Linked DNA regions of Homo sapiens: all the other regions are linked to region 2. Evidence: promoter capture Hi-C in 16 types of primary human blood cells and fetal thymus (Javierre and others, 2016). All regions are on one chromosome and are shown on one strand. The core of a region is centred on a gene start or on the middle of the fragment in contact, and the rest is flanking DNA. Distances in the headings are between cores, read along the strand shown.

Region 1 (3,591 bases), core at 94-2,593, 550 kb before region 2:
ACCTGCACACATGAAGAGTGTGGGCCAGGGAAGTCATTGGAGGTAATCTAAATATTGTTTGATTTTCATTTCTCTGTTTGGTGTTGGGGTTTGGGGTCTTTTTGATACAGGATCTTACTCTGTTGCCCAGCCTGGATTGCAGTGGCATGGTCACAGCTCACTGTGGCCTCAAACTCCTGGACTCAAGTGATCCGCCTGCCAAAACCTCCTGAGTAGTTGTGAATGAAGGTGCACACCAACATGCTTGGATAATCTTTAAATTCTGGGTACAGACAGGGTCTCACTACGTTGCCCAGGCTGGTCTGAAACTCCTCACCTTAAGCGATCCTTCCACCTTGGCCTCCCAAACCACTGGGATCACAGGCATGAGCCACAAACCCTGGCAAGTTATTGATTAATATGCACTGTAAGCTCTGTATGAACTAAGAATAAACTGATTCCTTCTCTATTTTGGGCGACTCAGTCTCCGAACCCACATCCCCCAAAGGCCTTCCCTAGTGAGCCAGGATCTGCTCACCCTCTTCTCCCACAATGGGATGGACAGGCTGGGAGACAGAGAGACCTGAGGCTGGAGGCAGGAGCAGATGGCCTTTCTGGACAGACCCCACCTGAGGAACCATCGGCCCCATAGTCTGTGTTCCTTTTCCCCACTCTGCTTGGGAGGAGGCACCTGAGGATTCACGCATTCTGCTCAGAGATGACTCCTCCATAACTCATGGCTCACAACAGGCGCACCAGTTCTGCCACCCACACTGTTCACACATGGGACACACACTGACACATGGGAAGTGCCCAGCTGCTTCATCAGAGGCGCTGCTGTGTTGGGAGGAAACTTTACATGCACAGAAGGCCCCTTGCATGCTCCCAGTTCAACACCCAGTCACATCCCAGCACACACTCACCCATAGTCTCACAGAGCCATGCCACTCACTGAGTCTCACACACCTGCTCACTGTGCATATAAAGATGCTCACACACTGGTCCAGCTGTGCTCACACACACACTCACATCACAGTCAAGAAGACAAAACGCAGTTACACCCTTACACTCAGGCACACACCCGCCCACCCTGGTGGGCTGTTCACCTCCCACCTAAAGTCACATCATCTCAGCAGAGGTTACTCTCATCAGACACCACCATGCACTCACAGACGGTTACACTGGTTCAGAGTCCACACCCCACACTCCACCAGCATCTCAGATATCATAGCCGCACGGTTTCTCTTTCACACACCCACAACTCTCAGTAAAGTGTTCACAAGAGAAACTCTCATACTTTCGTCTTGTGAAATCACCCCTGATTCTTTCTTGGTTTATGTGAATTGAGTTTATTAAAGGCTGTGTCTTTTGACTTACTTTTAGTGATGACATTGTTGTCTCCCTCTGTGTAGTTCTTCAGAATAGTATCTGGTCTTCTGTGTGAGTCTCTGATTTGCAGCACTTAAATAGTCCCTCTTGGCCCTGCCCTCTGGCTTTATTTCTTTCTCTGAACCCCTGCCAGGAAGATTTCTCAGCAGCGTGAGTAGGGGTGGCAGAAATAGACTCAGTTTCAGTTTTCAGGCCTGTGACTGTGCTGCAGCAGAAACGACACGGAGGGTCACACCAAGGGGCAGGGAATCGCCAGGGAAGGCACAGATGAGGATGATGGAGTGAGGGTGGGAAGTTGTGCACTTCAGCCTCCATGCTTCTCATGAAGCCATGTCATTGTGTGCCCTGGTCAAAGGGTTTGCCTTGCATCCATCTCTGACCAAGATTGACACTCTGCAAAGTACTGACTGCCTTGTCCACTATTTGAGCCCACAGCTCCTCCTCTATGACATGACTTTTCCCATTCTAAGTCAGAAAGGAGGATGGTAGAAGGGCATGGTCATCTATGAGCACTCTTTAAATCAACAAATTAGCCTTTGCTAAGTCTGGGTCTCAACATTTCCAGAAATGGGATGGTTCATCCCCCATTCCTGAACTGAGGGCAGAGAGCATATGAATTTCCCTCTTCTTTTTCCTGGTCGAGCGGAGGCACCTGTGCACTTTGGAGTCCAAATAGGGGAAGGGAGCCCCCATGAGGTCCCTACTCTGTTTCAGTGTAGAGAGCGCAGTTCCCACTCAGCCCTGCTCAGCTCAGACACAGCCCCTTCCACGCTGCTACTCACTCAGTTATTCACGCCCGAAATCCCGTCTCAGTCCAGAAATCTCTATGCTGTCCACTATCCTCCTCTTTTCCTCACACACTTTCTCACACCTATAGAAAGTTCTCCTAGTCTCTATAGGTTTCTACTTTCCTAAAGCAACCAGGGACACAGAGATTCTTATTTCCTGCCAGTTCACCTAGGGCAGGCAAGACACTCTGTATCTACTCTCAGTGTCTTCATAGCTGTTTCCTCAAGCAGCAAATATTGTTCCTGTGATTTGTGTCTGAAATACTAACTAGAGAGTATGCATCAGACTCAAGCAGTGAATTACAAAATCAGTTTCCTCTCCACGTGGGATTTCCTGGAAATCTATTGATGTCTTCATAAGTAGAAGTGAAAGGGGAATCAAATCCTGTTTTTAAGTCGGTTCCAAGTTCAGCTGGAATTATGTGAAAGTGAAAGCACTGGAAGCACCTGGCACTGCCCAGTTGGCCCCACATCCATCCTCTGCTTATTTGCTCAGTGTCAGGTTGCAGAAGTGGAATGGACACACTCAGCAAATGGCAGAATCCCACATTGGTTGTCTGACCTGTGCAGGGAGGAATGTGATAGTAGGAAAGGGCAATGGAAGCCATTAGAGCTGCTTCCACCTACAAAAATAGGAAAGCAAAAGCAACACCGCATTCTTGGAGGGCCTGCACAGAGTAGTACAGTCATGAGGGACTTTAAGATACAAGGGTGGCGTTTTTTAGATGGAGTCTTGCTCTGTTGCCCAGGCTGGAGTGCAGTGGTGTGATCTCGGCTCACTGCAAGCTCTGCCTCCTGGGTTCACGCCATTCTCCTGCCTCAGCCTCCCGAGTAGCTGGGACTACAGGCACCCGCCACCATGCCCCGCTAATTTTTTGTATTTTTAGTAAAGACGGGGTTTCACCGTGTTAGCCAGGAACCTGACCTCGTGATCCACCCTCCTCGGCCTCCCAGAGTGCTGGGATTAAAGGTGTGAGCCACCATGCCTGGCCCATATTTGGCAGTTTTATCTCTTAAATTTGGGTTGTTGATCCATTTTGAGTTAATTTCTGTATATAGTATAAGGTGAGGGTCCAGATTCATTCTTTTACATGTGGATATTCAGTACAAAAAACCTCCATGACAGGTTTACGTGTATAACAAGCCTGCACATCCTGCACATGTACTCCTGAACTTAAAATAAAAGTTAAAAACAAACAAACAAAAAACCCCACAAAAACCAAAAACCATTTATTCAGGAGACAATTTGTTCCCACATTGAATGATCTTGGCACCCTTGTGGAAATCAACTTACGATGGATGTTTAGATTTATTTTGACTCTCAATTCTGTTCCACTGGTCTATAGGCTTATCTTTAAGCTGGTATGAATGCATTTTGATTACTGTAGTTTTTTAAAGCAAGTTATGATATTAGGAAGCTGAGTTATCCAACTAT
Region 2 (3,924 bases), core at 761-3,260:
CAGCCCAGGGTAGGGGCACTCTCCCGGCTCTCTGAAGATGCCCTCGCAAGCCACATCACCGTTTGCAGAGACGCAGTCTTGTGTCACTGGCTTGGGGGCTGGTTCCACTCTGCTCCCACCAGGGAACTGAGTGCCCTCTGAGGCTAGGGGCTCTGTGGATCTCGTCCCCTGCCACACTCCCAGCACCCGGCACAGTGCCCAACAGTCAACCCCCAGCAATGTCACATCCTCTGCAGGCCAGGCAGGGCTTCAGTGGGGACCGAGGCAAGGAACCCCACAGAGCAATTCCACCATGCACCCTAATAATTAAGGTAAGGAGGGAGGTAAGGGCTGGTCAGATGAGAGAAAAAGAGCCTGCAGCAAGGCGAGCCAGGGTGGTCCCGGGCCAGCTGAGAGTGAGCGACCCGTCAGTGAGAGAGGGCAGGGTGGGGAAAGGATTCCCAGCAGAAGGAACAGGAAGGTCAAAGACCGGGCGGGAGGCATGGGCCTGGAGTTGGAGAACAGTAAAGGGGCTGGGGAGAAATGGGCAGAGCCATAAGAAGTGAGGTGGGAGTGACTAAGGACCACAGTGAGAGCTTAGGGTTTTAAGAACAGTGAACACCCCGCTCTGCCCAGGGTACCACCCAGGGACACTCTCCCCAGTCAGAAGCCCGTCGGACTCCCTTGCTCGGACTCCAGACCACCTACAAACACCCTACTCCCATAGGCTCACAGGAATCTTCCCTGCCAGATCACACCCTTCCAAGGAAACCAAGCAGACAATCCGATCCGCCCAGGGAGTGGCCCAGCCCTGCCCAGCCCCCTGCTTCCAGGAGAGACCTAATGGCTGGCAGCGGACAATGTGGCGACCAGGGGCAGGAGCCCTGGAATCACCCAGGCCCAGCTTCGATTCTAACTCTGCCTTCAGCAGAAGCTTCTGAGCCTCATTTTTCCCGTCTGTAAAGTAGGTTCATCTTGAGCACTCACTTCACAAGATTGCAGCAGGAGTGAAATACGACCGGGCACACAGGGCGTGGAGCACAGTGTGAGCCCTCATTAAACATTAACCGACATTATGATGATTTGAGAGGCGGTCGGCCAGAGCAGGGCTCTGGGCCAGAACTCCGGAGTTAGAATCCCAGCGCACAACTTATGCATCGGGTGACCTTGTGCAAATCACTTAACCTCTTAATACCAGGTTAAGACCCCCTAAGACTATAGTGAGGACTGAATAAGCTCATACAAGTAAAGCGTTAAAAAGAGGGTCTAGCCCATAGTGTTTCATGAGTGTTTGCCATTATTATTTGTGGGAGGGTTCCCCCTTCTCCTGTCACCAGGAAGCATCTCTGACCCGGCCCCCCCCCCCCCCCCCGTCCCCCGCAATACGCCCTCCTTGGGTTTTAATTTTTGACTCTGGGAAACAGCTGCCCCGCTGTCAGATTCTCACCTTTGTACCTTCTAGGCACGCCCCAGCTTTGAACCCCTAAAAGACGCCCCCGAACCTAAAACTCATTCATCTGCTCCGCTAGGGGCAGCTTTAAACCTCCAACCTGGCGCCCCTGGGGCTGTGACCTCTGACCCTCGTGGGGGCAGCCTTCCCTCAAATTATTAACTTTGACCCTGCCTTTTTTGAGACTCGCCCAGAACCCCTCGAACGCGCCCCCACTTCGAATTTCAAACTTTGCACTCCCCTTCGCCACGCCCCCTTCGCTGGTTTGATCTCCGACCTCCACTACAACTCCCTCCAGTCTGCGTTAACCCCCGACCCCTCGGACGCGACCCTTCCCTCCACCAGTGACCTTTGACCCCGGCGGCCCCGCCCCCCTCCTCGCGGAAACGCCGTCCCGCCGCCAGCGCCCGGCCCACCGCAAGCCCCTGGCCGGACCCCTTATCCTACCGGCTCGGCGCCGCAGTCGCTCGCGGCCTAACTGCTCGACCTGGAACTCCGCGCCCTCGCGCCTCCCTCAGCTCTCTTGCACCGCCACCACCGCGGACACTCCCGCCGCCATGTTGAATCCCCAACGAACATCCGGGGCTTTCCCCCCTCACCGCCCACCAGTCCCCATAGCAACGAGGCTGACCGGGCAGTGGGCAGGGCCAGTGCGGGGGCGGAGTCGGGCGCCTCTCAGGGCCCGCTCCAGCCTCCGATTGGTACAGAGCGTCCAATCGGAGACCTTCGGGCAGAAAATGCCAAGCGGGGATTGGAAATTTTGGAAAAGGTGCGGGAAGGCTGGCTCCCGGCCCACTGAGGTCCTTAAAGGGGAAATGACTGTTTTCGTGTGATACCGATTTTCTAACTTCCCCCCCAGAAGGAGTTAGGGGCTGGGAGAAAGTAATGAGTTAATGGGCAGAAACAGTTCTTAAGCACTTACTAGGAGGCAGGCACCGGGATAAGTGTTTTACTTGCATTTTCTCGCTGCATATACAACCCTGTGGTATAATATCATTAATACCCATTTTACAGATAAAGAAACAGAGGTTCAGAGGGTGAAATAGCTGGCTTAGCATCATAGAAAGAAGGTAATGAGTTTTGAACGCTGGTCTGTCTGAGCCCGGGAACCTGAGACTGTTTGCTCTTCAATTTTTAAATAAGTTTTTACGAAGTAATTGGTCAAAATATTGAAAACAAACAGCAGACATCTTCTTTAAAAATTTTTTTAAATTTTATTTTTACTTATTTATTTGTCTTGAGATAGAGTTTCGCTCTTGTTGCCCAGGCTGGAGTGCAATGGCGCGATCTCAGCTCACTGCAACCTCCGCCTCCCGGGTTCAAGAGATTCTCCTGCCTCAGCCTCCTGAGTAGCTGGAATTACAGGCGTCCACCACCACACCCAGCTAATTTTTTGTATTTTTAGTAGAGACAGCGTTTCACCATGTTGGCCAGGTCGAACTCCTGACCTCAGGTGATCTATCCGCCTCGGCCTCCCAGAGTGCTGGGATTACACGTGTGAGCCACCAAGCTGGCCTTTTTCTTTTATTTTTAAAGAGAGAGTTTTGTTGTGTTGGCCAGGCTGGTCTCGAACTCCTGGGCTCAAACTATACTCCTGCCTCGGCCTCCCAAAGTGCTGGGATTGCAGGCGTGAGCCACTGCGCCCGGCCAGACATCTCTCCTCCTGGATCTTATTCACTGGACTCCAGCCTTCATGCTGTTCCTGAACTCTTGTCAGGTGCGCTCTCACCTCACAGTCTTTGCACTGGTTGTTCCTCTGCCTGGAACATACTCTTCCCCCAGGTATCCTTATCTCTCCCTCCCTTTTTTCAGGGCTTTACACAGATGTCACTTTCTCTGTGAACTAATTCCCTCGCTCACCCTAAGGAAAGCAGCAAACATCCCTCTCACATACTACCAAACTCTGTCTGCTTTGTTCTTATTTCTCACTCCTAATTGTAGTTATTGCTTGTTGGTTGTCTCCTCTGCTGGAATGTCAGCCCCATGACAACATGGATTTCTGTCTTTGTTCACTGCTGCATTCCCAGTGCCCCAGCACTGTTGGCATGTAGATGCTCAGTAAACATTGGTGGAAGGGCTGTTTGAATGCGTGGTAATTCCACCCCTTCAGAGATACTCTTAAATGTTTGGTGCTTCTCCTCTGCCCCAGAACAGCCACATAGTAGGCATTTAATTAATTTCTACTAATGTCGGTGGCAACAATGAATGAATGATTGAATGATGAGTTAATTTTTCTTTATGTTTACCTATCTTTTTTCTTTTTATTTGTTCATTCGTTTTTTTTTTTGTTTGTTTTGTTTTTTGTTTTTTTTTTTTTTTTTAGATAGGGGTCTTACTCTGTCGCCCAGGCGGGATTGCAGTCTGAAACTCCTGGGCTCAAGTGATCCTTCCAACCTAGCCTCTCAAGTAGCTGGGACTATAGGCATAAGCCACCACACCGGCTAATTTTCTTTCTTTCTTTCTTTTTCTTTCTTTCTTTCTCTTTCTTTCCTTCC
Region 3 (3,634 bases), core at 278-2,777, 530 kb before region 2:
TTTCAACTCTCACAATCATCAAGGGCAATGGACGTCCTTCCAAGAAGTGGCACACATTACTGACAGCACAGCCCCAGTACTTGCACAAGTGAAGCCTGTGGGTCAGGGACATAACTGGAGGGAATGATTGATTTCTACAATGACTACAAGTGGTTGATGATTTTTCTGTATTTTTGAGATAGGGTCTTGCTCTGTTGCCCAGGCTGACATGCAGTGGTGCGATCATAGCTCATTGAAACGTTGAACTCCTGGGCTGCAGTGATCCTCACACATCTGCCCCCTCTTGTGTAGCTGGGGCAAAAGGTGCCTGCCACTCTGGCAGTCTGATATTTAAAGTTTTTTAAAGAAAGGGTCTCACTATGATACCCAGACTGGCCTCAAACTTCTGGCCTCAAGTTATCCTCTCATCTTTGTCTCTCAGATTGGTGGGATTATAGCCGTGAGCCAGTGAACCCAGCTGCTTTGTTGATTAATATCCACTGTAAGCTCTGTCTGAACTGAGACTAGACTTGTTCCTTCATGGGTGGAGGAACAAGTTTAGACTCAGTTGAGACATAGCTTACAGTGGATATTTTACGTGATTCAGTCTCTGAAACCATGGCCTCTAATATCCTTCTCTAGCAAACCTCCTGTCCCACAATGAAAAGGACAGGATAGGCTGGGGACAGGGAAGCTGAGCCTGGGAGGCAAGAGACAGTGGTCACTCTGTGCAGACCCCACCTGAGGATCCATCACCCCCATAGTCTCCATTCCTCTTCCCCACTCTTACTGGGAAGAGACATCTACTGATCATACATTCTGCTCTCATAAGTGATCTGAAACAAGTCCTTGGTAACTCACAATCTCCAAGATCCCTACCAGTTAAGCCACCTGGGATCCACATTGCCACACATGAAAAGACACACAGTTCCTTCATCAGAAGTGCTGTTGTGTGGGGAGGAACCTTCACATGCACAGAAGGCCACATGCGTGTTTTCCCTTCAATACTCAGTCACATCCCAGCACACACACCCACAGTCACACAGAGCCATGCCACTCACTGAGTTACACACACCTGCTCACTGCGCACATAAAGATGACCATGCACTGGTCTGGCTGTGCTAACACACACTCACATCACAAAGAGGAAGACAAAGTACAATCACCCCCCTTACACTCACACAAACACCTGCTTGACCTGGTGTGCCATCCACCTCCCACCTAAAGTCACATCATCTCATCAGAGTTCACTCTCATCAGATACCACCTCATGCTCACAGAGGGTTACATTTGTCCAGGATCCACAACCCACATGCTACAAGCATCTCAGATACCCAGCCTCAGTGTTTCTCTTCCACACACCCACAACTCTCAGTAAAGCATTCACAGTAGGAATGCTCATATTTTCATCTCATAAAATACCCCACATCTTTCTTGGTTTTGTGTGACTTGAGATTATTGAAGGCTGTGCCTTTTCAACTCACAGTTAGAAATGACATTGTCCTCTCCTTCTGGGCGACCTTCGGAATTGTGTCCAGTCTTCTGAGTGAATCTCTGAGTTGCAGCACTTAAATGACCCCTTTCAGCTTTGCCCTCTGGCATCATTCCAGATTCCATGCTCCTCCCAGCAAGCTTTCCTTGCAGCATGAGAAAGGGTCAGGTGTCACGAAGAAACTCAGTCACAACCATAACTATTTGCAAGTCTGTGTCTGTAATGCAGCAGAAATGACATTGGGGAAGGTACCAGACTGTGGATTGGGTTACCAGGGAAATGCATAGATAAGGATGATGGAGTGAGGGGTAGTGATTGTAAAGCCCAGCCTTTGTGCCTCTCAAGCCTTTTCTCCACTATGCAGAATCTACCCAGAAGGTGTACATTTTCCCAATTTTGTACAATGGCTAAACAAGAAAAAAAAAGTTGGAGATTTTGGGGGAAACAAGTTAGCCCTAAAAGGTAATTCTTCTCTCTGCCTTTAAATGTTCTGGGAGAGCACTGACCTTGATCCTGAGGAGGATCTGCAGAGAGAAGTAGAGAAATTTCTTGCATGAACCTGCCCCACACTAAGCCACTTGGCTTTGCTAGGTAAGGGCCACTTTCATCTGACTGTCACACACTTGGGCTCTAGCTACACCCTCTGTTGGTGTCCATGTAAATCAAAGTTTGAGGGAGACTGTTTCTTCTGCAGATTCTGGGAGAAAGGTGAGATTTAAAAAAAATTATTATTATACTTTAAGTTCCAGGGTACATGTGCACAATGTGCAGGTTTGTTACACAGGTATACATGTGCCATGTTTGTTTGCTGCACCCATTAACTCGTCATTTACATTATTTATCCTGATGCTATCCATCCCCCTGCCCCCCACCCCATGATAGTCCCCCATGTGTGATGTTCCCTGCCATGTGTCCAAGTGCTCTCATTGTACAATTCCCACCTATGAGTGAGAACATGCGGTATTTGGTTTTCTGTGCTAGTGATAGTTTGTTCAGAATGATGGTTTCCAGCTTCATCCATCTCCCTGCAAAGGACATGAACTCATCCTTTTTTATGGCTGCATAGAATTCCATGGTGTATATGTGCCACATTTTCTTAATTCAGTCTATCATTGAAGGATTTGGTTTGGTTCCAAGTCTTTGCTATTGTGAACAGTGCTGCAATAAACATACGTGTGCATGTGTCTTTATAGTAGCATGATTTATAATCCTTTGGGTATATACCCAGTAATGGGATGCTGGGTCAAATGATATTTCTAGTTCTAGATCCTGGAGGAATGGCCACACTGTCTTCCATAATGGTTGAGCTCGTTTACACTCCCACCAACAGTGTAAAAGCGTTCCTATTTCTCCATATCCTCCCCAGCATCTGTTGTTTCCTGACTTTTTAATGATCGCCATTCTAACTGGTGTGAGATGGTATCTCAATGTAGTTTTGATTTGCATTTCTCTAATGACCAGTGATGATAAGCATTTTTTCCTGTGTTTGTTGGCTGCATAAATGTCTTCTTTTGAGAAGTGTCTGTTCATATCCTTTGCCCACTTTTTGATGGGGTTGTTTGTTTTTTTCTTGTAAATTTGTTTAAGTTCTTTGTAGATTCTGGATATTAGCCCTTTGTCAAATGGGTAGATTGCAAAAATTTTCTCCCATACTGTAGGTTGCCTATTCACTCTGACGGTAGTTTCTTTTGCTGTGCAGAAGCTCTTTAGTTTAATTAGATCCATTTGTCAATTTTGGCTTTTGTTGCCATTGCTTTTGGTGTTTTAGTCATGAAGTCCTTGCCTATGCCTACATCCTAAATGATATTGCCTAGGTTTTCTTCTAGGGTTTTCATGGTTTTAGGTCTAACATTTAAGTCTTTAATCCATCTTGAATTAATTTTTGTATAAGGTGTAAGGAAGGGGTCCAATTTCAGCTTTCTACATATGGCTAGCCAGTTTTCCCAGCACCATTTATTAAATAGGGAATCCTTTCCTCATTTCTTGTTTTTGTCAGGTTTATCAAAGATCAGATGGTTATAGATGTGTGGTGTTATTTCTGAGGGCTCCATTCTGTTCCATTGGTCTATATATCTGTTTTGGTACCAGTATCATGCTGTTTTGGTTACTGTAGCCTTGTGGTGTACTTTGAAGTCAGGTAGCATCCAATTCTGTGAAGAAGGT

The links. Contacts are between HindIII fragments. The CHiCAGO score rates a contact against its expected background, and 5 or more counts as called.
Region 1: a fragment that was not itself captured here is called in contact with the fragment with the promoter of PAK4 in region 2 in 2 of 17 cell types (naive B cells and total B cells); the score reaches 12.4 in naive B cells.
Region 3: the fragment with the promoter of LGALS16 here is called in contact with the fragment with the promoter of PAK4 in region 2 in 11 of 17 cell types (naive B cells, total B cells, activated CD4 T cells and 8 more); the score reaches 12.5 in naive B cells.

Annotation. Positions count from the first base shown.
Region 1 is chr19:39,677,200-39,680,790 of GRCh38, reverse strand. It overlaps the pseudogene LGALS17A. Among named protein-coding and RNA genes, the nearest start is that of LGALS16, 23 kb to the right of the region's middle. RefSeq lists an enhancer at 2,568-2,862. The HindIII fragment of the contact is 6,903 bases long and covers 1-3,591 here.
Region 2 is chr19:39,123,872-39,127,795 of GRCh38, reverse strand. It overlaps PAK4 (p21 (RAC1) activated kinase 4), which reads right to left and starts at 2,010. Exons shown (of 10, transcript NM_005884.5): 1 at 1,877-2,010. The HindIII fragment of the contact is 5,933 bases long and covers 916-3,924 here.
Region 3 is chr19:39,653,806-39,657,439 of GRCh38, reverse strand. LGALS16 (galectin 16) reads right to left here and starts at 1,527. Exons shown (of 4, transcript NM_001190441.3): 1 at 1,464-1,527. The coding sequence starts at 1,478. The HindIII fragment of the contact is 3,782 bases long and covers 1-1,613 here.